2 separate regions of the Homo sapiens genome follow, and region 1 is linked to region 2. The links are contacts of gene promoters, found by promoter capture Hi-C in blood cells and fetal thymus (Javierre and others, 2016). All regions are on one chromosome and are shown on one strand. The core of a region is centred on a gene start or on the middle of the fragment in contact, and the rest is flanking DNA. Distances in the headings are between cores, read along the strand shown. Region 1 has its middle 54 kb from the start of GOLPH3. Region 2 holds the start of ZFR (zinc finger RNA binding protein).

What was found. Contacts are between HindIII fragments. The CHiCAGO score rates a contact against its expected background, and 5 or more counts as called.
Region 1: a contact is called between a fragment that was not itself captured here and the fragment with the promoter of ZFR in region 2, in 9 of 17 cell types (activated CD4 T cells, M2 macrophages, monocytes and 6 more). The highest score is 8.5, in activated CD4 T cells.

What each region holds. Positions count from the first base shown.
Region 1 is chr5:32,119,162-32,121,941 of GRCh38, forward strand. No RefSeq gene overlaps it. Among named protein-coding and RNA genes, the nearest start is that of GOLPH3, 54 kb to the right of the region's middle. The HindIII fragment of the contact is 1,072 bases long and covers 994-2,065 here.
Region 2 is chr5:32,443,432-32,446,131 of GRCh38, forward strand. It overlaps ZFR (zinc finger RNA binding protein), which reads right to left and starts at 1,309. Exons shown (of 20, transcript NM_016107.5): 1 at 1,191-1,309; 2 at 798-897. The coding sequence starts at 1,227. RefSeq lists silencers at 352-691, 922-1,611 and an enhancer at 403-960. The HindIII fragment of the contact is 7,512 bases long and covers 1-2,700 here.

The sequences.
Region 1 (2,780 bases), core at 280-2,779, 320 kb before region 2:
TCTTGCCCTGTCACCCAGGCTAGAGCGCAATGGTGCAATGTCAGCTCACTGCAACCTCCACCTCCCGGGTTCTAGCAATTCTCCTGCCTCAGCCTTCCAAGTAGCTGGAATTACAGGCACCCACCACCACACCCGGCTAATTTTTGTATTTTCAGTAGAGATGGGGTTTTACCACGTTGGTCAGGCTGGTCTTGAACTCCTGACCTGAGGTGATCCACTCACCTCGGCCTCCCAAAGTGCTGGGATTACAGGCGTAAGCCACCACACCCAGCCCCATCCCTGCCACTTTAACTTCCCGCACTGAAACTCTGTGAGGTACTTTTCATAAACACATACATACACCACACAAACACACATAAGATTTTCCCCCAGAAGCAATGACCAAGGCAGTAGTAACAAGTATTCTGAAAGCCCAAATTACGGTCTCGAAGTACCATTTCATGCTAAAAGAAACATGGCTTGTTGGAAAAATAGATGATTCCAGATACAGGGTAGGAAATATACAAAATGAACCTGAAACATCTGAGCCATACCAGGAAGTTATCAAAGACTACTAAAACTATCAAAAGGACTCCAGATCCTTGAAGAGAGTTCCACTGGCCAAAGATAGGGCATTTTGAGCATTAATAGGGCTAATAACTGTAGACCAAAACACATAAAAGAATGATTATTCCATTACACTAAGTGAAATAAGGCACAAAAAAGACAAAAAAAAAAAGATCTCGCTTATATGTGTAATCTAAAAAAGCCAATCTCATAGAAAAAGAGTAGAAAAATGGTTACTAGAAACTGACGGGAAGGGGAGAGATAGGGAAACAAACGTTGTTCAAAGGATACAAAGTCTCAGACTAGAGGAATCAAGTTTTAGTGATCTATTGCATTGCATGGTGACAACAGTTAATAATGTATTGTGTTTCAAAATTGCTAAAAAGGACTATTTTTAGTATTCTTACCACAAAAATATAAGTTGGTAAGGTGATGGTTATTTTAATAAGCTTGACTGAATCTCCAATGTGTACAAAGACTAAAACATTACATTATACCCATAAATATACACAATTATTATTTGTCAATTTAAACAGAATGTGTTTCCATAAGTTCATAATACTTTAAAAATTAAAGTTATTTTTGGAGGGTGCCATGGAATCAGCTGTATTTTGAAAATAGGTAAATAAACTGTAAGAATTATTCTACCTTCCCTCTATGAATTATAGTAAAACGTAATGTAGATAACACGTCTCTTTATAGAAATATTCTAGCTAAAAAAAAAAAATAATAATGAGGGCCAGGCGCCGTGGCTCAAGCCTGTAATCCCAGCACTTTGGGAGGCTGAGGCAGGAGGATCACAAGGTCAGGAGTTTGAGACCAGCCTGGCCAATATGGTGAAACCCTGTCTCTACTAAAAACACAAAAATAGAAAAATAACCGGGCATGGTGGCAGGCGCCCGTAATCCCAGCTACTCGGGAGGCTGAGGCATAAGAATTGCTTGAACCCAGGAGGCGGAGGTTGTATTGAGCCAGAGATCACGCCACTGCACTCCAATCTGGGCGACACAGTGAGACTCTGACTCAAAAAAAAAAGAAAAAGAAATAATTGCCGGGTGCGGTGGCTCACGCCTGTAATCCCAGTAATCCCAGCATTTTGGGAGGCCGAGGCGGGCAGATCACAAGGTCAGGAGATCGAGACCATCCTAACATGGTGAAACCCCATCTCTACTAAAAATACCAAAAAATTAGCCGGGCATGGTGGCAGGCACCTGTAGTCCCAGCTACTCGGGAGGCTGAGGCAGGAGAATGGCGTGAATCTGGGAGGCAGGGAGGCAGAGCTTGCAGTGAGCTGAGATCGGGCCACTGCACTCCAGCCTGGGCAACAGAGCGAGATTCCATCTCAAAAAAAAAAAAAAAAAAAGAATTATTAAAATATCACATTGCAACCCCAATAAATAAGAATTGAAAAGCAAGGCTGCTAACATCACAAAAGGAAAATATGAGACATTATGTGCCTCCTGGTGGAAGCATACACCACCACTGATTAGTGTTGCCTACACAAACAAACCTGAATCTAAGCTTCTAGAGCCAATTACCAATTCTTGGGAAATGCAGTGTAGAAGTCAAACACCTTAAATCACACCTTGTGGAAACCATCAACAAAATCCAAACCTTGGAAAACTCTGCAGGACAAATGATCCAATTTCATCAACAAATATTTTGCAAAGGAAAAACAAGAGAGAGATGGGGGAAGAACCTACAGATTCAAAAAAAACTTAAAAGACATATCAAATGAAACAAAACAATACAATTAAAGATTCACACTGGGTCAGGACAGTACTTACTCTTATGAAGACTGTAATTGGGAGAAAGACTTGAACAGCTTCAGGGTATAGCTGGCAAGGTTCTATCTCCTGACCTGGGTAATGGCTGTAAACATGGGTGCCTTAAATTAATTAATGTAAATATTTGAGATTTTCCATTTATATTTTAATCATAAAAACTTTTAATGAAATGCTTATATACATATTCTTAACCTAGACATTTCGACTTTTTCCATTTTTAAATTTGATCATACCCTCCCAAAGTTAATATATATCAAATCTGACCACCAGACATCTCTTTAGAAGAAGGATCTCCACAAATTGCATGCTCAAGCACTGCACCTTACACTTTTCTGAATGTTAAAGAAAGCAAAAGCAAAACTTACCATCTGCCAGCTCCCAAGACTGGGAAAACAACTGCATCATAGGCTTAAGTCCTCGTGAATCAGTACATAAAAAGATCAATGC
Region 2 (2,700 bases), core at 59-2,558:
ACCCCCGCAAGGAGAATGACAGGCCCACCTGGGGCCTAAACTCCATAGCTCAAACAAGGCTGGGCACTCATTTATCAGCACTAGAAACTTCGCACATCTTTTCCAGTCTAAGAACTACACAATTTACAGGTGGTTGGTATGTGAATCTCTCTCCTTGCAGGAAAAACTAAAGGAACCCGATGAACACAGTGACACCCGCAGTTTGTCAGCAGGACTCGCTAGCGATGGAGCGTCTGGGGAAGAAGCCCCACGGCGGAGGAAAAGGTACCCGAGACAACGACACGTTATCTGGGCTCCGGGGGTTGAAGCACCAGGCGACGACGCAGAGAGGCGTCGCACGAGAAGCCAGTGGACCTGCGACACGGCACTCCCCGTGAGGTCCCTTCAGCCACCCTCTCCATCCCCCAAGTGGGAAGAAGATGGGAGGTGGGGGCTGGACGCGCGGAGGCGGGGACTGGGGGGCCTGCCGGGCGGCGGTGGCGGCTCCGCTCGGCGGCCGCAGGAGGCCATTTTAGTTAAGGGGCCGCTGAAGGGCCCTGAGGCCTCCACGTCCCTACACCTCCGCCGTCTCTACCTCCCCCCTACTGGGGGCCGCTCCCCGCCGCGGGCCGGGCCGGGCCGGGCAAGGCGGGGCGGGGCGGGGCGGGGCGGGAGAGGCCGCCGGGCTGGGCCGGGCCAGGCCTGCAGCGGGCCGGGGCTCTGGGATGGCTGGGGACGGGCGCGGGGGCGTCGCATCGACAGGATCCGGACCGAGGGGAGAGCAAGGGGCGAACAGAGAGAAGGCAGGATGCCGTTACCTATATTGGGCCGCAGCCGCCGCCGCCGCCGCCCCGCTGTGGGTGAATCCAAAGTAGTTGCCGGTCGCCATTTTGGCATCTTCCCCCAGCCGGCTGGGCACTGCGGCGGGCACGAAGAGTCGGGTCCCATGGCGGGACAAGAGACACAGAGGAGCCGAGACGCCGAGGGAGGGCAGGGAGAGAAAGAGAGAGGCGCCGTGAGAGCAGCCCTGGCGGGGCCCAGGCCGCGGCCGCGCCGCCTCCCCCTCCCGCCTCGCACTCCCTCACTCACTCGCACGCCCGGGTGGCGGCCGCCGCCTCCTCCCCGGAGCCTGCCCCAACCCCCGCGGCTCCCCGCTGCCCGGGGCCAGGGAGGGGGCCGGGCAGAGGCCTCGCGGGCCACATTAGACTCACCATAGGTGAAAGAAACTACAGGGCATATGGGAATCATGGGCTCGGGCTGCTGCTGCTGAACTCTGAACTCTCACCCGCTGCCTCCCTCCTCTGCCCCGCTCCTCCTCAGCGGAGAACAGACCGCCGCCTCCGACCGCACTGCGCAGGCGCGCCTGTGCTCGGCATCCTGGGAGCTGTAGTCCCCGCCGTCTTCGCGGCTCCCCCGGGCGCGTGCCGGGGCCTCGGCGGTGCGGGCGCGGGGAAGCCCGCGGGGGAAGAGGGGCCTGGCCTTCTCCGAAGTGGTGGTGACGCCGCGCGGCCGCGGGGCGACGGGGGCGTGTGCCAGAAGCGCCTCGCCTGTCCTCTGGGGAGTCGGGGAGCGTGACCAGAGAGAGTGACGTCTGTTCGCCTTTTTCTTTGCTTTCCACTGGCTTCCTTAACTTTTGCATGTGCACTTATTCCCTGCCTCCCTGTCTTCCTCGCTCATTAATTTTTCATTGGAATTCGAGCTGGGCAATTTAGGATTTTTCCTTATTTCCTGCTTTCCCGCAGCTTTTCCCCAACCTCTGAAGTGCGGAGGGAGGGAGAAGGAGAGGAGAGAAATAGAAAAAGGATGGAGAGTGCTTTTCTGTTGGACTAAAAGCACACCCTAAACATCCCTCCCGGACATACCTCTTGCTATACCCTTTCCTCGACCTGCACCCACTCCCTGAGCCATCCGGCGTATATCGGTCACCCAGCAGGGTGTCAGGCAGTGTTGTAGGTGCTGGAGATACGGCAGAGAACAAAACAAAGTCCCTGTTCCCGTGGAGTTTACGTTCTAGGAGCGGGTATATGTCAGCCAACAGCCGGTAGCCAAAACACAGAAATTCTGTCTGATGGTGACTGGAGCTTCAAGCATAAATAAAGCAGAGTAAGGAAAATAAGGGTAAGGGAGGTGCTATTTCATGTAGAGTGTGGTTAGGGAGACCACTTGAAGGAAGGAAGGACAGGCCTGGGAGATGCCTGCAGGAAGAGCAGCAAGTGGAAGGGTCCAGATGAAGGAATGAATGTTCAAGAGCAAGAAGATCAGTCTGGCTGGAGTCAAGTGAGAGGGAGACCAGATCACGTGCCAGATCTTTAGTGGTAAGGACAGAACAGTACTTGCCCCCATGTAAGCATTTCCTCTTTCCCTCTGTTTCCTCGCTTTCTTCCCTTTAGTTTCTCAGTTCGTTTTCAACCATTCTCTTTCCTCTTCCAGTCCCTCTTCTGATCGTCTAGTTTCTCTGGCCTTATGTTTCGTGTCTTCCATCAAGTACATATGTACTGCCTGCATTTCACCTCTTCCTTACCTTCTCCATGCCCATCCCCCAGACTCCCTGCTCCTCATCTCTCCTCATTGTTGGATATGAACATTAAAAGGAAATGCTGGCCGGGCGCGGTGGCTCACGCCTGTAATCCCAACACTTTGGGCGGCCGAGGCGGGTGGATCACGAGGTGAGGTCAGTGGCCAACATGGTGAAACCCCGTCTCAAAAAAAAAGAAAAAAAAA